7 separate regions of the Homo sapiens genome follow, and all the other regions are linked to region 1. The links are contacts of gene promoters, found by promoter capture Hi-C in blood cells and fetal thymus (Javierre and others, 2016). All regions are on one chromosome and are shown on one strand. Each heading gives the region's core, a stretch centred on a gene start or on the middle of the fragment in contact. The rest is flanking DNA. Distances are from core to core; before and after follow the strand shown.

The links. Contacts are between HindIII fragments. The CHiCAGO score rates a contact against its expected background, and 5 or more counts as called.
Region 2: a fragment that was not itself captured here is called in contact with the fragment with the promoter of TDRD1 in region 1 in 4 of 17 cell types (total CD8 T cells, naive CD8 T cells, activated CD4 T cells and 1 more); the score reaches 6.6 in total CD8 T cells.
Region 3: a fragment that was not itself captured here is called in contact with the fragment with the promoter of TDRD1 in region 1 in 4 of 17 cell types (activated CD4 T cells, naive CD4 T cells, total CD4 T cells and 1 more); the score reaches 7.3 in activated CD4 T cells.
Region 4: a contact is called between a fragment that was not itself captured here and the fragment with the promoter of TDRD1 in region 1, in 1 of 17 cell types (total CD4 T cells). The highest score is 6.9, in total CD4 T cells.
Region 5: a fragment that was not itself captured here is called in contact with the fragment with the promoter of TDRD1 in region 1 in 1 of 17 cell types (total CD4 T cells); the score reaches 5.5 in total CD4 T cells.
Region 6: the fragment with the promoter of FHIP2A here is called in contact with the fragment with the promoter of TDRD1 in region 1 in 16 of 17 cell types (naive CD8 T cells, total B cells, activated CD4 T cells and 13 more); the score reaches 34.7 in naive CD8 T cells.
Region 7: a contact is called between a fragment that was not itself captured here and the fragment with the promoter of TDRD1 in region 1, in 7 of 17 cell types (naive CD4 T cells, total CD4 T cells, naive CD8 T cells and 4 more). The highest score is 8.4, in naive CD4 T cells.

Annotation. Positions count from the first base shown.
Region 1 is chr10:114,177,781-114,180,808 of GRCh38, forward strand. TDRD1 (tudor domain containing 1) reads left to right here and starts at 1,573. Exons shown (of 25, transcript NM_001395205.1): 1 at 1,573-1,636. The HindIII fragment of the contact is 8,256 bases long and covers 1,115-3,028 here.
Region 2 is chr10:114,950,755-114,953,782 of GRCh38, forward strand. TRUB1 (TruB pseudouridine synthase family member 1) reads left to right here. Exons shown (of 8, transcript NM_139169.5): 3 at 340-395. Among named protein-coding and RNA genes, the nearest start is that of TRUB1, 14 kb to the left of the region's middle. RefSeq lists a silencer at 2,513-2,562. The HindIII fragment of the contact is 842 bases long and covers 1,076-1,917 here.
Region 3 is chr10:114,929,192-114,932,219 of GRCh38, forward strand. No RefSeq gene overlaps it. Among named protein-coding and RNA genes, the nearest start is that of TRUB1, 7.5 kb to the right of the region's middle. The HindIII fragment of the contact is 1,940 bases long and covers 602-2,541 here.
Region 4 is chr10:114,860,864-114,863,891 of GRCh38, forward strand. FHIP2A (FHF complex subunit HOOK interacting protein 2A) reads left to right here. Exons shown (of 17, transcript NM_020940.4): 15 at 1-26; 16 at 368-471; 17 at 572-3,028. The coding sequence ends at 677. Among named protein-coding and RNA genes, the nearest start is that of FHIP2A, 41 kb to the left of the region's middle. The HindIII fragment of the contact is 2,208 bases long and covers 420-2,627 here.
Region 5 is chr10:114,839,393-114,842,420 of GRCh38, forward strand. All of the region lies in intron 5 of FHIP2A (FHF complex subunit HOOK interacting protein 2A), which reads left to right. Among named protein-coding and RNA genes, the nearest start is that of FHIP2A, 19 kb to the left of the region's middle. The HindIII fragment of the contact is 4,538 bases long and covers 1-3,028 here.
Region 6 is chr10:114,820,364-114,823,391 of GRCh38, forward strand. It overlaps FHIP2A (FHF complex subunit HOOK interacting protein 2A), which reads left to right and starts at 1,417. Exons shown (of 17, transcript NM_020940.4): 1 at 1,417-1,760. The coding sequence starts at 1,716. It overlaps LOC124902508 (translation initiation factor IF-2-like), which reads right to left and starts at 2,585. Exons shown (of 2, transcript XM_047426127.1): 1 at 910-2,585. The coding sequence starts at 1,738. The coding sequence ends at 1,133. RefSeq lists silencers at 1,166-1,475, 1,486-1,835, 1,896-2,115 and an enhancer at 1,821-2,321. The HindIII fragment of the contact is 9,749 bases long and covers 1-3,028 here.
Region 7 is chr10:114,793,990-114,797,017 of GRCh38, forward strand. It overlaps a transcript of ABLIM1 not described here. Among named protein-coding and RNA genes, the nearest start is that of FHIP2A, 26 kb to the right of the region's middle. The HindIII fragment of the contact is 1,148 bases long and covers 993-2,140 here.

The DNA.
Region 1 (3,028 bases), core at 323-2,822:
ATGTGGCTTCTGTCAGAACTCTGTACAGCACCTTCTTTTCTTTCTTTCTTTTTCTTTTTTTTTTTTTTTTTGAGACAGTCTTGCTCTGTTGCCCAGGCTGGAGTGCAGTGGCAGTGATCTTGGCTCGGTGAAACCTCCGCCTCCTGGGTGCAGGCGATTCTCCTGCCTTAGTTTCCCAAGTAGCTGGGATTACAGGCGCCTGCCACCACACCCAGCTAATTTTTTTTTATTTTTTTATTTTAAGTAGAGACGGGGTTTCACCATGTTGGCCAGGCTGGTCTCGAACTCCAGACCTCAAGTGATCTGCCTGCCTCGGCCTCCCAAAGTGCTGGGATTACAGGCATGAGCCCCCACGCCCAGTCAGCACTTTCATTTCACTATTCTGTAAATCTGAAACTGCTCTAAAAAATAAATTTAAAAGACACATCAACTAAAGAAAAAAAATCAGGCTTTTAAAGAATTGAAGTTAGTGAAGTTAGTTTTATTCAGAGTCTTACTGAGGACTGCAACCAGGGAGAGCCCAGAGAATTTCTGTTAAACTACTCCAAAGCAGTGGGTCAGCACACTTTAAATATTAGGTGGTAGAGGTTCTGCCCAGGGGTTACATTAAAAGTGCCCAGAAGCTATATAAGATCAAAATATTTTCAAAGTTTGGGTGCGAGAGTAAGTCTAGGCATCATCATTAATCTTGTCCGTTAGGTACAGAAAAAGGCAAGGCCTAGATCTCTGAAAGTATCTTTTCTAAAAATGCAGTGACTCTGAGAGGTGGGAACCTGAGTTCTCTCCGCAGTCTTCAAGGCATTCTTCTGGAGGGCTGAGATGTTACTAAGTCAAGGGGTCTGAAATGCTGACAAACACAGTGAACAAACGTGGCTTTTTCACAGTGAGGGAGGACTATGCTGGGGGCCAGAAGCAGACGTTCGCTACTTTGTCTCACATTTACAATTCTCGGATTTGCTTCAAAACATTGCCCGAAGAGTGCCTGGGCTGCAGATGTAGACAAGATTAACCATGAATTGATAAGGTAGAAACTAGATGATAGGCACACAAGGGTTCCCTTATGAAATTGTTAGAAAAGTTCCATAGCAAAAAAAAAAAAAAACAAAACTTAAAAAGCTTGTCTTTAAGTAACACCAACAGGTATAATCACATGCCCTCAGTCAGGAAGCAAAGAAAAAAAGTATGAGCACGTGTGTGTTTACTTTCCAAGACCAGGCAGAGGCTGTTGATTATTTGGAAAACCTTGGAAGACCTTTAAGTGGCCACGGTGACCCAAGTGACCTTCGAGGAGACAAAGTCTGCATCTTTGCGCCCAAATTTGCCAAAGGCGTTGCCAGAGACATCTTTCTAGAAGAAGCTAGAACAAAATAAAAGTTTCTGCAAAGGAACTTTTTGAGCCTGTAACTAGAGCACAAGCTGCTTCCGGGGAAGGCGGAGGGAACACGTGGGCACATTGAGTTGCACGTGGACGCGGAGTGCGCAGGCGTGCGCTGAGGCCAGGAGGGCGCACTGGGGATTGGAGGCGAGGGAAGTGCAGGGCGCATCCCAGGCGGCAGGGCTCCCAGCATCGGCAGTCGCCATCACCGCCAGACCGCAGAGACAGGTTCGGATCCGCGGTCCTCTTGCCTCTTTCCAGGTCAGGGTTCCCAGGCGTATAGGGGAGGGAGAGGGCCTGCATGAAGGGGAAGGGAGGGGGCTTCGGTCGTTGGGGGCCAGACGTTGGGCGCTGGACGTTGAGGTTGGGCGTTGAGCGGGTACAAGGGGCCTGGAAGTGGAGAGAGGAGACTTGGAACCTTGCTGCGAGGGTTTGGTGTGGGAGGATTCTCTGAGTTTGGAAATAGCGCTTCCAGGCATCACTCCTTCAAATGCAAACGTTCACCTTCTCTCTAAGAGAAACTTGCATGTGGATTCAGTGCCTTCGTTTGACTAAAAATTACGATACAAACAATATTAACATTTACTAGACTTTTTTTTCCCTACTTTCCTCCTATAGGAAAGGAAGATGTGCTAGGGCATTTACTTAGATGTGGGTCAGCTGGCGCTAGTTTGTTTAAGGAGTTCCTGCTGTGTGCCAGTAGCTTTTCCGGGCCCTAGGGTCCTTGCTATAAATACGTTAGCCCTGCTGGGCTTCTGAACTAAGGGAGCTAAATGCTTCCAGCTTCCTTAGTGAGGCAGCACGGTGCTGTATGCTTAAATCCAAGGCCGTGGAGTCTGACCTGCGTTTTTATCTAAACTGTGTAAGGTGCTGGCCCTGGGTGGTTTGGTAAGTTATTCCAACTTCCCACGTCTCCCTTGTTTATCTGTAGGAATAACGAAATAAAAATACTTTAGTCCTCAAATTATTTTCATCTTAAGCCTGCAAGCTGGTTCCACAGGAATGGAAGAAATTTTGTGCTTGTAGGAGTGGTATAAAAGTAAAGCAGAAATAATAGCTGCCCTTTAAGCCCTTAGGAAGTACTAGCCACTGTGCTAAGTGATTTACTTCGTCTCTCATTTAATTCTCGTGATTAGGATTTGTGAGGAAGTTAACTACTGCCCTCTGCATTTTACAGTCGCTGAATCCTAGAAAGATGAAGTGATTTGCCCAAGATAGCGTGGCTAAATGAGGAAGACGAGACTTACCTGGCTGACTTAAGAGCTCATGCTTTACCGAAGCGTTGCGTTTTGTCTGTTTAAAACCGGAGTGTTTTTGTTTGTTCTTTGAGTAAGAGTTTCACTCTTGTTGCCCAGGCTGGAGTGCAATGGCGCGATCCCAGCTCACTGCAACCTCCGCCTCCCGGGTTCAAGCGATTCTCCAGCCTCAGCCTTCCTAGTAGCTGGGATTACAGGCCAGCCACCGGCGCCCTGCTAATTTTTGTATTTTTAGTAGAGACAGGGTTTCACCATGTTGGCCAGGCTGGTCTCCAACTCCTCACCTCAGGTGATCCGCCCACCTCGGCCTCCAAAGTGCTGGGATTACAGGCGTGAGCCACAGCGCCCAGCCAAAACCGGAGTGTTTTCTTTGAGTAGAATGGTTCTTGCAGAATAC
Region 2 (3,028 bases), core at 247-2,746, 770 kb after region 1:
TGTGCCGTGTGTTTTTCACTGGTGCCCATATAAAATTCCAGTGCGTCCTTTGAGATTGTTCTAAGGCTTCATTGTCTAATTGGCTGGGTTAAGGTTTCTACTGAGTTTAATACTTTGAGAATGGGGAGAAAGGTCTTCTCTTGTCCCTTCTTTAGAATTTCTTAGTTGCATGACAAGTTCAACTGTTTGGAGTAATAGGAGCCCTAACATTTTGCTAAATATCTGTTCTTTCCCACTTCACATTACCTAAGCTGGGAAATTATGACCAAAAAATATAGCTATTTTAAAAACCTAGTTTTCAGAACAGAGTGTCATAATATTTCTTTCTTTGATTTGTAGTTGTTGGAATTGGAAGCGGAACAAAAATGTTGACCAGTATGTTGTCAGGGTCCAAGGTAAGAATACTGAAATAGTTCTATTTTTCTTTAATGTTCTTAATGATCTACATGTATTGGGTTTTTATCAAATAAAAAATAAACTGAGTAAACTGCATGAATGGGTATCATTCCTGAGTATTAATTATGTCTATAAACATATCTGAGATTGAAAATATCGAGACTGAAAATTGGAAATTCTTAATTGAAAAACCAATTAGACTTAAAGAAACAATGCTACAGTGCTCATCATTTAACAAAATTATATTTAGACTTTTAAAACATCATATTTCTTAGATGATTGGGACTTAGAGGTCATAAACTCTAGTGACAGACTTTTTTAAACCTTGGAATTTTTATAGAAACAATACCATTTTGTAAACTGTGCCCTTTGAGCAAAAATATGCTTTGTTCAATGGTTATAAATGTTTATTAAAGAAAAGAGTAGGGCCTCTTTAAGATGATAAAGTATGTTCATATATGAGAGTAACCTTGAATAGATCCAAAAGCACTTTTCCAGGCACTTGATAGAAGAGAGAAGGGGTTATTTGGAGGCAGGAGAGGCTGGAAAGCTGTGAACTGCTGGTAGAAGGGGTCTCTTCCATCTCTCAAAGAGAGAGTAATATCTGTATCCTAATGAGTAATTAGGTGCTGGTTATAAGTGCTGGGACTAAGGGTCAATGAAAATGCACGTGGAAGGAAGCTTAGTATGCCAAGAGGTAGCGAAAAATTTCATTATGTTCCTGGAATAAACTTTGTTTTAAAACTCTTGCTCTAAATGTGATATAAATTGTTGATAAAATGATTTTTGTTTCTTTAAAAAAATCTGTTGTCAAAGACCATTTAAAAAACAATTTCCAGTTCATTGCAGACTGATTGATGACTTTTGTAAAATATAATTAAAATACGGCAATGTAAAATTGCTAAATAAGTTTCTACGCAATCTCATTTTCTGAACTTATTATAGATAACTGGCCTGTGGAAAACACTTGACGTAGTAGTGGTTTAAGTATTAAAATAAAAGCCCTGACCGAGCGTGGTGTCTCATGCCTGTAATCCTAATACTTTGGAAGGCCGAGGCGGGCAGATCACTTGAGGTCAGGATTTCGAGACCAGCCTGGCCAACATGGTGAAACCCATCTCTGTTAAAAATACCAAAAAAAGTATCCAGGCGTGGTGCTATACACCTTTAATACCAGCTACTCGGTAGACTGAGGCAGGAGAATCACTTGAACCCAGGAGGCGGAGGTTGCAGTGAGCCAAGATCACGCCATTGCACGCCAGCGTGGGTGACAGAGTGAGATGACTCCATCTCAATAAATAATAAGTAAGGTAGGTAGGTAGGTAGGTAGATAGGTAGATAGGTAGGTAGGTAGGTAGGTAGATAGATACATAGATACATAGATTGATTGATTGATTGATCGATTGATTTTAAAAAGCCTCGGAGAACATATTGCATGTGATGTCTCATTTTGGTTATCAACTGGCATAAAAATCTGTGCCATTCAATTGGAAGGAATCTTAGTGCCTCTGATAAATGAAAAGCTTCAGTGTGGCTTGCTCTGTAATCTTCAAAATATTGGTGTTGAAAAATTACAGAGTATAAAAATTGCATTAGAATGAAGGTGTTTGACAGTTTCTCAGTAAATTTTTATACTGTGCTTACTGACACATAGAGTTTAGAATCTGTTTCTGATACTGGTTTTTGCCAGTTGTTTAATATTTGTTTCTGAACTCCCAAAGATGAACAATGTTTACTTTAATATGGGATTATGGATGATTTTTTTTTCACATTATTTGGTATTTTCTAAAATCTATACAATAAACAAGTCACTTTTATGTTAATAATAAAAAAGATATATTTACGTTAAGGAATTTGTTTGGGTTTTTTTACCAAGATAAAATATGTTGAGTTCATTGAGATATTCGTTGTTCACCCCTCCTCCCCCAAACCACAAACACAGCACACTATATATTACTGAAAGATTTTACTTGTAAATTTCAGGCATATTTTCAGAAATATTATGACTGAAAATGTAAATACATCATTGACTCTGGTATAAATTTTGTAACAGCCAATTTGCTGTTCAGCTACGAAAGCTGAATGTCATACAGTGAAATCACTGATCCTCAAAATGACTGTAACATAAATAGAATACCACAGGCACGTCTTGTTACAGAAACCTAGTTCTTAGGTATTTCAAAAATAGGCATCGTTGTCTTGTTAGCTATTTATATTTCTTATCCTTTTAATTTTATGTACCTGTTAAAAGAACTAAATCATTAAGAGTTTAATGTTGAAGATTATTTTTTAATAAAAAGTAGTTAAAAACTGTTAATAAATATTTTTTCTTTTTTTAAAAGCACTAGAAGGAATCTTAGAGATCATCTTATCTAGTGACTTTCAAAATTTTTTTGACTAAGACCCATAGTAAGAAACATATTTTATGTAATGACCATATAGATACATACATTTATGAAAAGGAAAAATTTTATCAAACAACTTTGTGTTAGTCTGTTTGTGTTGCTGTAAAGGAGTAGTCGAGGCTGGGTAATTTATAAAGAAAAGAGGTTCATTTGGCTCATGGTTCTGAAGTCTGTACAAGAAACAAGGTACTGGTATCTGCTTCTGGTGAGGGCCTCTGGAAGCTTAC
Region 3 (3,028 bases), core at 322-2,821, 750 kb after region 1:
TAATCCAGGCCACTGTCTTCTGGATTCCTCGGCAAAAATGCAAATACCCCTAGAGGAGTGACACATCAAATGATTATCAGGTGTTAATATTATGTTGAAATCACTAATATTAATTTTTTTTTTGAGACGGAGTCTCAACCTGTTGCTCAGGTTGGAGTGCAATGGCACGATCTCGGCTCACTACAGCCTCCACACTGGGTTCAAGCAATTCCCCTGCCTCAGCCTCCCGAGTATCTGGGATTACAGGTGCCTGCCACCACGCCCAGCTAATTTTTGTGTATTTTTAGTAGAGACAGGGTTTCACTGTGTTGGCCAGGCTGGTCTCGAACTCCTGACCTCGTGATCCTCCCACCTCAGCCTTCCAAAGTGCTGGGATTACAGGCTTGAGCCACCATGCCCAGCCAAGATTGCTTTTTTAACAAAAGCAGAGGACATGGCGTCTTTGAGACAGAAAAAGACCTGGAATATGAACTGTTGCAGAGAGTCAGCCATGTTATGTTATCAGGACCTGATAACAATGCCCTCATTCTAGACACGATGAGTCTGTTATTGCTGTCAAGATCACATTCGCTGTTCTGGTGGCCATTTTATATTCACACAAAGCTTATATTGCACTCATGTAAGGCTCATTCTAGACTGAAATCCTCAAGACTTTTCATATAGGTTGACTCTAACCTATATTTTCTATGACCTGATCTTGAAAATTATTTTTTAGCATTCACATGTGAGGGCCTAATGGTCCATTTCTGTAAAAATTCAGTTGCATGTGGGTTAAATGAGTTGTGCTAATCACCATGGCTGACATATGCTAAGTGCTCAGAATTTACCATTCTGGAAGGTCTTTCTGTTCTCAAATGTGCTTACTCTTTTTTCCTAGCTTCTTGTCAATGGTAAATGATGTAAACATACTTTCTATAACTTCATCCAAGTCGATGATACTTAAATTTTTGGTCAGAACAGGGCCCCAGATGCTGCCCTGTTACACGACACCAAAAATCTCTTTTGAGTGACATTAATCCATTAAACAGCATCCTTTCCCAGTGAATATTCCATGTAATTTTTCCTACAATGCCCACATTTCATCATCTTGTTCTTAAGAATATCATTATAAACCTTACCAAATAGTTTGCTTAAGTGCAGGTAAACCATACCTGCTGATTTCCTTCACTTACCAGTCTAGGAAACTTATCAAAGAAGGAACTGTGTTAGTATAACATGACTTGTTTAAAAGGAGTTCTGAGGGTAGGAACTTTTCCTTTCACATCTGGCACAGACGCTCAAAACACATTTGCAGAATTCCAAACTCTGTACTGCTAAATCCCCAACGCTTTATACATAGTAGATTCTTGATAAATGTTTGTGGAATTAATAACCCATTCTGGTTTTTTATGACCACAACTTCCTTTCTATACAACTTTTTTTATTTTGAGACAGAGTTTCACTCTCATCCGCCAGGCTGGAGTGCAATGGTGCGATCTTGGCTCACTGAAACCTCTGCCTCCCTGGTTCCAGCAATTCTCCTGCCTCAGCCTCCCAAGTAGTTGGGATTACAGGCACCCACCACCACACCTGGCTAATTTTTGTATTTTTAGTAGAGACAGGGCTTCACCATGCTGGCCAGGCTTGTCTTGAACTCCTGACATCGTGATCTGCCAGCCTCCGCCTCCCAAAGTGCTGGGATTACAGGCATGAGCCACTAGGCCCAGCCTATACAACTATCTTATAAGGAACTTATGTTAGAATTTTGCCCACATTTATTGCTTGTGGTTCACTGAATCTGGCTTCAATTCCTTTTGAAAATTGAAATATGTACCCAATTTGTGTCTTCTGAAATTACTCCAGAGGTAATTCTTCACTTTGCTCTAAGATCTTTGGCAGTGGGTATAGCAGGCTTTGAAGGATTTGGAGGAGGCAGGGGTTCCAGTGCCAGCTTCTTTACTGTGCAGTAAAGGGTTAAGGCCATGTGTTGGTTAATATTAAGTGTCAACTTGATTGGATGGATGGATGCAAAGTATCATTTCTGGGAGTATCTGGGTGTTTCTGGGTGTGGCCAGAAAAGATTAACATTTGAGTCAGTGGACCGGGAGAAGACTCACCCTCAGAAAGACCCACCCACACTGTGGGTGGGCACCATGCAACCGGCTGCCAGCATGGCTAGAAAAAGCAGGCAGAAGAAGGTGGAAGGAGCCAACTTTCTGAGTCTCCCAGCCTTCATCTTTCTCCTGTGCTGGCTATTTCCTGCCCTCAAACATCAGACTCTATGTTCTTTGGCTTTTGGACTCTTGGACTTACACCAGTTGTTGCCAGGGGCTCTTGGGCCACTGGCCACAGACTGAAGGCTGCACTGTCAGCTTCCCTACTTTTGACATTTGGGGACTCAAACTGAGCCACTACTGGCTTCCTTGCTCCTCAGCTTGGGCCTATAGAGGGAGTTTACTTTGTGACTGTGTGAGTCACTTCTCCTTAATAAACTCCCCTTTATATATACATCTATCCTATTAGTTCTGTCCCTCTAGAGAACCCTGACTAATACAGACAGTAAGCTTGGGGTACTCAAGTTCTGCACATTTCAAAGAAATGACTGACCCTTTACTGGCTCCTGGGAGACAACCTCTGAGCCCGTGGAGTATCCTGTCTGATAAAAACGTTTTCGTGTACCTAAGGCCCTGAGCTACTGCTGTATCAGTTTGATCTCTAGGGGACTAGAGACTGAGTACCTAAGGTCAGTCATGGAGGCACTGTGTCTACATGACTGATCCCCAATAAAAACTCTGGATGTCAAGGCTCAGGTGAGCTTCCCTAATTGGCAGCACTTCATACACCTTTGTCACACTTCAGTGCTGGGAGAATTAAGCACTGTGCATGTGTCAGTTGAGAGAGGATAACTGGCCTTCATCCCATGTGCTTTGCCTTTTGCTGATTTTAATTTGTATCCGTTCACTATAAGAAGCTATAACCATGAGTATCACAGCTTTTCTGAATCCTTGAGTTTTTCTAGTGCAGCCAGCCTGAGATTGGTCTTGGGAAC
Region 4 (3,028 bases), core at 274-2,773, 680 kb after region 1:
GATCTCTCTTCTCTGTAATTGTCAGGGTGAGTTACTAGTTCTGTTATATTCCCTAGGATTGATAAATCTGTGCAATTAATATGTTAATATCATTGTATGCAGTTAGTGTCACATAATGAAAAATATATCTACTGCTTAAAAGTAATTATTATACATTCTGAACTACTATTTTTTCAATTATTTTAAATAATATGTAACTTTTATTTTAAAGAATTAGGTATGAGTCCTTGGTTAAAGATGATTATATGAGTAGTGAAAGTTTACGTTCTTTATTAAATAGTAGGGAAGGAAGATTTTTCTTTTTAGATCCTGAGGTTGTCTGTGTAGCTGATTTCAGGAACTGAAGTGCCTTGCCTCTGTGATGCAGGTTGTTGGAGACCTTATGCTTCGAATCCAGCGTATTCAAGACTTTACTCCCAAGCTTCTGTTAGTCAGAAAGCGGTTACTTGGTTTGGAACCTGAAGGCCCTATGTAAGTTAGTGTTTTACATTTTTTTAATCCAAAAATTTCAGTGAACTTAATGATCGGCTGCTATCTTGAATTGATTTATTGTCTGTTTTTTCCTTACCAGTATTGACCACATCACACTGCTAGAGGGTGTGATTGTGTTAGAAGAGTTCTGTAAGGAGCTGGCGGCAATCGCATTTGTAAAATATCATGCTTCCTCCACACCATAAATAACATCTTTCATGTAACTGGGGGAACAGAACTACTGTGTACATTTCACCAAAAAAGACTCAGTTCCACCCAGCCACAAGAGGATAAAAAGCCTTTTTAAACGCAGTATTGCTGTAAACTGGACAGAACCATTAAGAACCTATTGAGTGGACATTCTTGGTGAAATGTTGTATAATGTTGTTTTCATTGGCTTTATCATAATGGTTCTATATATACAATTGCACATTGTTGAATCCAGGATACAATCAAAGGAACTTCAGGAAATAAGCATTTCTAATGACTGTGAAAAGCTGCAATATTTCCAATGTCATGACTTTGATGATATTTCTGTTATATTAATGTCCTTTTAGGTAGCAAGGCATTTTGACATTCTCTGGGACTCAAATGCTTGTATTCTTTTGGATTAATAAGTAGCAAAAAAAAATCACTAATTTTATAACTTTTTAAGGTCAGAATTCTTATCAAACAAAATATGAAAACTGTAAATGAGAAAAAAATACAATTCAGAAACCATTGAATGAATTAATTATAGGCGATAAAAATGTGTAGAGCACCATTAACTTTCTTCAGCTTTTTTAAGAATAACAATTTAATATGATAAATTCTTGATTAATATAATATATCTATATTTTTAAAGAAATGTTCTTTTACTCTTTTGTGCACATAGCCATGTTAGTGATTTTCTTCATGTGTGGGTCCCAGTTTATTTAAACTGTGTCGTTTTCGCAGCAGTGTTCAATTTGCTCACCATTGGTAGTGTTTGCTAAAATTGTATTTTTTTAAGCTAAGTAACATGTACTGGGTTGAGAACCTTTTTCCCCCCTCTCCCTCTCAGAAAATTGCTTTATAAAATTGCTTTATAATTTGATTTTCTTACTGAAACGCATGGTGGTGTCTAGGTGGGGAACTGACTGATAACCCTTGGCAGCAATCAAAGTGCCAGTGGCTCCTCGATGTTTACATTTTTTTCTATTTTGTTCAGTCTTTTGTTTTAAATGATTCTAAAGAGATTAAAGAAAACAGAGTTTTAAATGTCCTATTTACATGTTAAAGGATTTGGGGAAATTGGGTATGTATGTGAATGGGTGTACATGTAGGAACCTGTAGTTCAGCAAAGCTGCGCTGGGCACAGCATGCTTGTACTTGATTGACAAAATCGTGTTTGCCAGTCCACTTTCTATTTTTCCTTTAAGTGATGCTGATCACTCAAATAATGCTTTTAAGCTATTGTTTGTTTTTATTTGACATGTTAAGCCGCAGCACTTTCTTCTTCATCTTTCCATTTACTGATATTTGGGGGAACAGGCTATCAAAGGTTCCGGCTTGAAGGGAACTGTCACTACCCCCTCTAGGAAGTTATTTTATGTAGCATGTTTGCATATACGCATTGTGTGGCATGTGCATAGAGGCTTGTTTTACACCTATCTGCTCATTTTGTTGTGTTAGCTTTTCTGGTTTATTTCATAGTTTGTTCTTGCTATTTATTAAGAACAGAATATCAAAAGATTATGAATAGCCTCAGCTCTAGAATGCTTACCACTGTTAAAACAACAAAAAGACTAAACCTCTAATTTCATGCAAATCTTTGTTAGCTTATTCTAAGAAATTTATTAAGTAAAACAAAGAAAAAACAGAAGTGGGAGATAGTTATTTTGTGCGTAATTTTCTTTAAATCATTTTGAATGATGTGAAGGCATTCAGTTTGCTGTATTTTTTTAATCACTTCATACAAGGAAAACTTCGACATTTACATTTCTAGATGTAGTAACAGTCTACTTTGATATATGAGTATTTAAACTAAGGCATTAAGAGATATTAGATATTTCTTAATGTTTTCATAGTGCTCAATAGGTGTAGTAGCAATGATATTACCTCTGAAACCAAATACTCTTTTATCCTTGATTCCACTATGGGACCTTATAACTAGTCCATGAAACCAAGCTCAGAAAAGCTTTAACTCTTATATTTGTGTATATGTATGCTGCTTCTGAAAATATAATTTTTCTAAGTTGTTGTAATGACTTTAATTTGTAATCAGCTAAGGCTTAAGATTTCATTTGTTTCTAAGTTTCTGTTTTTCATCCCTTCTTTTTTCTTTTATATTTAGTTCAGACCTAGAGCCAGTAGAAGCTCTCACAGTGAGTTCAATTTGTTAGTGAAACATTGTACTGCATCACCAGTTTTTCTTACCTTCTGTTGACAGCTGAATATTTCTGTTACTCAGTACTTGCAAAAACAGTAACTAAAATGCACTATGCTGAGTGGAAAGCACCGTCATAACAATTGATTGCCATAGCAAGTTCCAAAGTGAATTTCAGCCTTGCTTCACATTTGTATCAATAAATATGCA
Region 5 (3,028 bases), core at 211-2,710, 660 kb after region 1:
CCAGGATTATAGGCATTAGCCACCATGGCCAGCCAGAAATGCAGTTTTATTACTTATAAGTATAGATAAGAACAAAAGTGCTTTGCAGTTCTCAAGCATGTATTCCCTGAAATGTCATCTTTCTCTATTCATTACTGTCAGCCAATATTTGCATCTACTATTGGTTAAATATATATGGTAGATGAGTTAGAAACAGTCTTTGCCGGCCGGGCGCGGTGGCTCATGCCTGTAATCCCAGCACTTTGGTAGGCTGAGGCGGGCAGATCATAAGGTCAGGAGATCAATCAAGATCATCCTGGCTAACACAGTGAAACCCCTTCTCTACTAAAAATACAAAAAATCAGTCGGGCTTGGTGGCCCATGCCTATAGTCCCAGCTACTCAGGAGGCTGAGGCAGGAGAATTGCTTGAACCCAGGAGGCAGAGGTAGCAGTAAGCCAAGATCACGCCACTGCACTTCAGCCTGGGCGACAGAGCGAGACTCTGTCTCAAAAAAAAAAAAAAAAAAAAGAAAAGAAACAGTCTTTGTCCTAAAGGAGTTTACAGTCTGGTGAAGACAGTAAATGAATGTTCAGATACTGTAATCTAAAGTAGAGTAAGGTGAGAATCAAAGGAAAGATACAAAGTAAATTCCTTAAGTACTTACAGGATGGAGAGATTCATCAGCTCTAGGTCATCAAGAAAGTCTTCCTGGAAGAGGTCATCTTTGAAATGAGGCTGGGCGCGGTGATTCACACCTGTAATCCTAGCACTTTGGGAGGCTGAGGCAAGCAGATTGCTTGAGCCCAGGAGTTCGAGATCAGCCTGAGCAACATAGCAAGACCTCATCTCTATAAAAAATAAATAAATACAGACAAATGAGCCTTGACATGTTTAGAGTGGGTGAACATAAGGAATGAAGATGTAAAAGTTTGTGGTGTGTTCAGGAAACAGTATAATTAAGATGTGTGGCAAGAAGCACCTGAACAGATAGACTAAGTATTGTCAAAGGCTTTGAATGACAAGGTGAAGAGTTTATTCTTACTTGTAGATACTGGGGAGCCATTAACTATTTTTGAGCAGGGATGTTATTATGTGATGGTATCTGTGCCTTAAGTTAAATTGGCAGCAGCCTTTTATATGGCAGATTCTTTGAGAGGAGAGATAAAATCAGGGAAACTAATTTGGAAACTGATGGAGTAACCCAGGCAAGAAGTAACAAGGACTACGACCAAGTTGGAAGCAGTGGGTTGGAATGAAATGCGTAACTTCAGACTAGAGGTAGGCTCTATATGGCCTTGTAACTGCTCAGATGCAGAAGCTGGGAAAGGATGATTTGAATGCTGGAATTCCTGAACCAATAAGGCTGCTGCTAGTAGAAAAACAGGGGCCCCAAGGGAGCTGATTTTGAGGGGAAGATGATAATTTTGGTTCCGGATGCTTTGAGTCATCATGATTTCCTGATGGAGATAATTAGCAGGTATTCGGTATTGCAAATCTTTGATTTGGGAGGGAAGTTTAAGTTTAAGAGATTTAGAAGCTATGTGTGTGACTATGTTGTGGGTACTGATGAGATCCCTAAAACAGAAGGGGAACAGTTTTAGTAGGAACCAAAGTGTTAAAGCCACAGTTCCTCATCACCTAGGAAATTTTTCTAAAATGCACATTCCTTGGCTCCACCTCCAGATATTCAACAGGTCCGGATGGGACCCAGGAATCTGCATTTTTATCAAGCCCCACAGAAGACCAGGATACCAACAATCTTGAGTCTTACTTTGAGAAACATTGATTGAAGGACAGAGTGCTATACTAACATCCTTCCTCTTGCTGTTCTTATTTGAGACGCCTCTCCCAACAATATTACTAGTATTTTAAATTGAATGAAATGTTTTACTTTCATAAAGAGTATGATATGCCATTGGTTTTTTTTTTTTTTTTTTGAGGTGGAGTCTTGCTCTGTTGCCCAGGCTGGAGTGCAGTGGCATGATCTCGGCTCACTGCAACCTCTGCCTCCCAGATTCAAGTGATTATTCTGCCTCAGCCTCCCTGGTAGCTGGGATTGCAGGCACATGCCACCACGCCCAGCTAATTTTTGTATTTTTAGTAGAGACAGGGTTTACCATGTTGGCCAGGCTGGTCTCGAACTCCTGACCTCAAGTGATCCGCCTGCCTCAGCCTCTCAAAGTGCTGGGATGTGAGCCACTGCACCCGGCCAATATGCCATTGATTTTGTTGGAAATTGGCAAATTGTTTGGAGTATTCATTGAGTCCCATAGAGTTGTTTGCTTTTAATAAATATGTTCTGTGAACTCAATTTCTCAAGAAGATTGGTCTAACCTATACTTTTAACAGCAATAAAAGTGATTTATAATTAGTATAATATAACTTTGGAAGTAGAACCCTGAATTCATTCAGCCTTTAATATGTTTCTATGATGATAGGCCCTGGGAGAAGTTAGTTTATGGTGAATTTTAACCTACTTGTGTAATCTGATTTCTGCTCTTATGTTCAAATGGAAAGCAAGATACTTTTGCCTTGAAGCTAACAATTTGCTAATTTGCTTCAGTTAAGAGTCTTTTTGTGTTTTGGTATGTGGATTGGGGGAGGGAGCACCAGCATTTCAAGCAAATCTTATTTCTATCCTAAAGACACTGGTAAAAATGTCCCCTGAGTAGTTTCTTGGGTTCTCTTTTTTTAAATTTTTTTGAGACAGGGTCTTGCTCTGTGCCCAGGCTGGAGTGCAGTGGCATGATCACAGCTCACCACAGCTTCAACCTCCCAGGCTCAAGCAATATTCCTGCCTCACTCAGCCTCCCAAGGCCTAGGACCATAGGTGCAAGCCACCACACCCAGCTTATTTTATTTTATTTTTTTAGTAGAGACATGATCTCACTATGTTGCCCCATCTAGTCTCGAATTCCTGGGCTCAAGTGATCCTCCTGCCCCGGCCTCCCAAAGTGCTGGTATTACAGGCATGGGTCACTGTGCCCAGCTTCTTGCGTTCTTATAGAGTAGAGGTTTAAGGAAAAACTTAGAAAAGATGCTTATAT
Region 6 (3,028 bases), core at 167-2,666, 640 kb after region 1:
CAGATATATATACGTGTGTGTGTGTATACATGTATATATACGTATGTGTATATATACGTTTGTGTATGTATAAACGTATGTGTGTGTATACATGTATGTGTGTGTGTGTGTGTGTGTGTGTGTGTGTGTGTGTGTATTTTTTTTTTTTTTTTTGAGATGGAGTTTTGCTCTTGTTGTCCAGGCTGGAGCGCAATGGCGCAACCTTGGCTCACTGCAACTTCCGCCTCCCGAGTTCAAGGATTCTCCTGCCTCAGCCTCCCAAGTAGCTGGGATTACAAGCATGTAATCCCATTACACCACCACGTTCGGCTAATTTTTTTTTTTTTTTTTTTTTTGTATTTTTAATAGAGACGGAGTTTCACCATGTTGGCCAGGCTGGTCTCGAACTCCTGGCCTCAAGTGATCCTCCCGCCTTTGCCTCCCAGAGTGCTGAGATTACAGGCGTGAGCCACCGCGCCTGGGCCAGATACGTATTTTCAGCACTGGTTGTGCAAAACTCACTCCCCACCTCATCTTAAGAACTTAATGAACCTTTTGGTAAAACGCCAATACCAGCATAAAACAAATTTCTTCAGGATACAAATATTTTCATAATTTGTATTAACTCAACCTAAACTTTACCAGCCTGAACTGCTTCTTCAAGGCTTGACTAATACACTGTTAGGGAGTATTTTAAGCAGCCTCCACCCAAGTGCTTACCTTGTAGCTCTATTTATCTGCCTTAGGCATTTACTGGACTCCTTTCAGATTCTTTCCCTCGCTAATGTTTTCCGGTATCATCTGATAACTGAATAGAAAATGCTGTTCTGAATCACTACACCTCACTATCAACCATATCACAAATAAATTATGTTATATATTATATATAAATATTATAATGGGCTATTTAAACTAAGCCAGCCGTCTTACCATGTGCTCATGTGGGATTTCCTGTTTCAATGTTGAATAATAATATATTTTAAAGTTAGCAAAGCCATTTCACCTGCAGTCGTTGATTTCTTCAAAATCTGAGCATTTAAATCCATTGCCAATGTTTGCTTAAAGAACACTGTTTTCTTAACGAGTCTTCCAAATCGGTCCTTACAGGAAGAACCTCTGAATGCTATACGCATATATGGACGGCTGCGTGTCCCTACAAAGTCAGCCTGTTACTTCCACTGGAGAAACAAAACTCTTGAGAATCGCTGAGCTGTAAAAATGTTAGAAAGCCGGTGTCCCAGGCGCCCTGAGAAAGCCGGGAGAGGGCGGTGGCTGCCCACAGGCCGCCTCCAGCCCCGCGCGAGGCCGAGGCCTCAGCGCGCCCCCCGCCCCCGCGGCGCCTAGCGGCCCCGCCGCAGGGCAGGCCTGGCCGGGCCTCCCCGGGCTGCGGCGGCGCCCCCTGCAGGCCGCGGCGGGCAGAGCGGGGGGAAGGAACCCGAGCCGGGCTGCCACCGTGTCCCAACCGGTGCCGCCGCCGGAGCTTCTCCGGGCCCCGAGTCCTCGCCGAACGCCCTCCTCGCCGCCCGCCGCGTCCCGGCGCCCTCCGGAGCCGCCGAGCCGCCCGCGCACACCTGAAGCGGCCGGGCCAGGCCCTGCCTCGATCCTCAGCTCGTCCTCCCCGCCCCGCACCGGCCTTCACTCTGGAGCGGCCCCGGCAGCCGCAGCAGGGGCGGCGGCGGCGGATCGAGGAGCTCTCCAGGTCGTCCCGGGAGAGGCTGCTGCAGTCCCGGGACAGGATGTTCTCCAAGTTCACCTCCATCCTGCAGCACGCCGTGGAGGCGGTAAGGCCGCGGGCTGCGGGCGCACGGCAGGCCGGGGATGGCGGCGGCCTACGCTCCCCGGCGGCCTCGGGGACAAGCCGGGCGGCCTTGGCCCGGCCCTCGGCGGCCCTGTCCCCGGTTGGGGTGAGGCCCCAGGCGGGCGCCCTGGGCGGCCGCCGGGTCGTGGGGGCGCCCGGGGCCTCGGGCCTGGCTCTGCGGGGGTCCCGTCGGTCCCTGGCTGCCCCAGGCCGGCAGTCCCTGCCCTCCTCCAGGAGCCGGGGCGGGGGTGCCGGGGAGGACCTGGCCGCCCAACGCCGCTCGGTGGTCGCCTCATTCCTCTGATGGGGCCGGGGGTTCGGGGAGCACCTGGCGGGGTCGCAGAGAGCTCCCCCGGGCTCCCTTAACGTTAACCTTCTCCGGAAAAAAAGTGGTCAGCGTTGAGCAAGACAAAAGAAACGAGCAAGCACCGCTTGGGCTTGGTTCTGTTTTGTTTTGGTTTTCGGGGGTAGAGGTGGGAGAGGCATGGTCTCGCTGTGGGGCGTCCCTGGCGAGGGAGCCGCCGACCAGCCCCCGGGTTGCTGGCTTTTGCTTTCTTGGGCCTGGAGGCCGAACTCAGCTGAACCTTATGTATTGATCTGAAATAGGAGTTTGGAGGGTCCAGTCGAGTTTGCTTTCGACAGCTTCCAAGCTCACCGAGCCCAGAGACCATCTGTTTCCTTTCTTGTCTAGTTCTCTTCCTGGACACTCTTCGTTTATCCTGCAATTGTACTCTCCTTTGAGGGTTTTAGACACCAGCATAGAGACAGTATTCAAGTATCCTAGTAGACTAATAAGTGAAAAGAAACTAAAAAGAAAATGCCTTGTCACTGTTCTAGTAAGAATGCTAGTTGCTTCACTTGTTTACTTTATTCTGGGAGAACTGCCCAAATTGAAAAATGCATTCTGTGCAGAAACAATTACTTTGCTAATTTTTAACATGACATTCTCTTCCTATGTTCATATTATGTGATAGGACACTTTAAAATGTACACTTTAAAAATGTCAGATACAACAATGATTTTTTATGGGCAGGCAAAAATGGAGTTTTTGCCTTCAGTAATAAAAACAAACTTTAGTACAATTGTTATTTAAGTGATACATGAGAAGCGTTAAAAAATTTAGCTCTAGGGCAAGCTCTTGGGAAAATGTATCAAACAGGAAAAACAGGGTTTCATAAATGTAGAGCAGTATTACACGGAGGGAAATGACAGTGGTAGACTTCAAGACAACTTTTAGTTTTTACTTGCTTA
Region 7 (3,028 bases), core at 317-2,816, 620 kb after region 1:
CCAGAAGTGATCAAGCTAAAACCAAATTCCTTTCCATCTCCTGTAGGCACCATGCAGTCTGGCCGCTGCTTCTCCATGGATCCCATCTCCTCTTGGACTCTGCTGTGGCTACACAAGTCTCCTGGATGTGTCTGGACCTACTAGGTTTGGTTAACTTGCCTTTGCACTAGTCTTCCTCTCCGGAATATTTCTGTCCCAGATACATACATAGCTTGACCCCTCTACTTATTCGTGTTCGCTATCCTCTTACCCTGCTTCATTTTCTCTTCACTACATTTAGTCACCATTTGATATATTATATCTCTTTTGTTTATTGATTCTCATCCCCAATTACAATGCAAGTGCCATGAAAACATAGACTTCGTATGTCTTATTTATTCCCATATGCCCAACAACCAAAAAATGTACCTGGCACATAATAAGTACTCAGTAAGTTTTGCTGAATGAATGAATGAATTTTTACTAAGAACCATTTATAGGTTCATTTAAAAAATCAAAGGAATTTACAAATGTAAGTTTGATTATGAACATCTGAGGTTTCTGAAAAATGAGATACAACTAGAAAAATGAGTAACATCAGTAATTGAGGATACATATTTGTGTTTTTTGGGGTTTCTTGATGCTGATGTTTTTTAATGCTGAAATTTTGTAAAATAAAATTCAAACTACATACTAATCACTAACCTTTTTAATATAAAATAGTACTTTATCTAAAGCAAGCTTGACCCACAGTTAATTAGCTGGATCATAGCCAGGAAAGTGCTAAAATGTCAAGGAAGTGAAAATTGTCTTTCTTTGACTCTCAGGAGTACAAGTAAAACCAGGGAATAGCTGGCAAATCTATTTTTTTCAAGTATAGTGAGAAAAAATACAGGAAAACATTCAAGAATCTCCCTAATGCTGAGAATATATGACAGCAAATTAACTTCCTGGCTGTAATGAGGAATAATTGGACATACATCTGAATTTTTATGAGATTTAAGGAAATTGAAAGCTTGAACACACTTGAGATTAATTTTTTAAAAAACTCCATGTTCTAATGAAACTTAAACCAACCCTCTCACTTTTCTAGTTCTATTTTTAAGGAAGAAAAAAATAAAAATATCATATAATCACATTTTTTAAAAACTGAGACCCAGATTATAAATCAAAGGGTCACACAAACATTCTTTGACCTAATAGTCATGCGCATACAAATGGTAGCGTCTATGGCATGCAAATAGAAGACACAAAGTGCCTTTCTGGCAGTCTGCCCTTCTCTGAATATTACATTTAGAGGGAATAGGCAGAATGCAGACACTAGACCCTGTCACTCATTCACCGCACAAAAAGGTCAGACTTACATTGAAGTGCTTAAGTGGGATAACTAATACCAGGTCCACTATGCCATCCTTGTCAAGTGGTCAAAAGAAGCCTAGTAGAAATTACACTTCTGGGCTGGGTGCAGTAGCCCACACCTGTAATCTCCGCACTTTGGGAGGCCGAAGTGGGCGGATCACCTGAGGTCAGGAGTTTGAGACCAGCCTGGCCAAAATGGTGAAACCCTGTCTCTACTAAAAATATTAAAAAACTAGCCAGGCGTGGTGGCACGAGCCTGTAGTATCAGCCACTTGGGAGGCTGAGGCAGGAGAATTGCTTGAACACGGGAGGCAAAGGTTGCAGTGAGCTGAGATCACACCATTGTACTCCAGTCTGGGCAACAAGAGCGAGACTCCATCTCAAAAAAAAAAAAAAAGAAATTACATTTCTGGTTTTACCACTCAGTGGTCGCACAAACCTGAATTAATCCTCTCAATTCTTCCAGAAATTGTGGCAAAAAGATATAAGCCTGCCTTAGAAATACTTGCATATTACTATATGGTAGGGATGTAAAATTACTTATCATACTAAATATTATTCCATATTCCATGAGAAAGCATGTCCTTGTTTTTATTTTATTTTGCCTATAAAAAAGCCAAACTATGACCTATTCAGTATTTTCAGGTAGTTATTACCACCTCCTGAATTTATGGGCATCCACTACAAAAGGAGGCCAAGATATCCTCAGATATGTGTGATCTTACAGAACCTTGACTTGAGAGGCAGGAGCCCTGTGTTCTCACTTCATGTTGGCCACTAACTAGCTTTGTGACTTTGGGTAAGCTTCAAAATTTTTCAGTATTATTTATCTATTGCTGCTTAACAAATTACCCCAAGCATAGAGGCTTAAAACAACAAACATATTATCTCACAGTTTCTGTGGGTTGGGAATTCAGGAGTGGCGTAACAGGTCCCACAGGGCTCAGGGATTCTCAAGAGGTTGCGATAAAGATGTCAGCTGGAACTGCTGTCATCTGAAGGCTTGACTGGAGCTGGGGGATCTACTTCTAAGCTCACTCACATGGTTGCTGGCAAGAGGCTTCAGTTCCTTGCCATGTGGGTCTCTCCAGGGTTGTTTGTGATATGTCAGTTGGCTTTCCCCAGAGTGAAGACCCAAGAGCAAGAGGGCAACTAGACAAGAGTGAACACTAGCCTTTAAACCTAATCTCAGACATAACATACTTCTGCTGTATTCTACCCTTCACATAAACTGACCCTGGTACACTGCAGGAGGGTACTACACAAGGGTGTGAATACCATAAAGTGGGGCTCACTGGGGAATATCTTGGAGGCTGGCTACCACTCTCTGACCCCAGTTTCCTTATCTATAGAAGTCTTTGAACTACATGATCTTTAAGGTTGGTAATCTCCTCCCTCCCCACTGCTACTCCCAGACCTTGCTTTTCCACTGTCATGTCAAAATTCCTACTCCTTTTAGCTTTAAGCCATTTGGCTATACCAACCTCCACCCCACCTTGTTGCTGTTACTTGTAGACTTCTGGGCCATGGGACAGTTGTTCTCCTCACTCCAAGTCCTGCCATCATCTTACGACCTGCATATCCTCATGGGTGACCCATCCCAAACCGTGAACTTTCAGCTTCTTGACCTCATCATCTCTAATGCCTTTCCCATACACTCCATTTCAATACCCATCCTCCACATCAACAT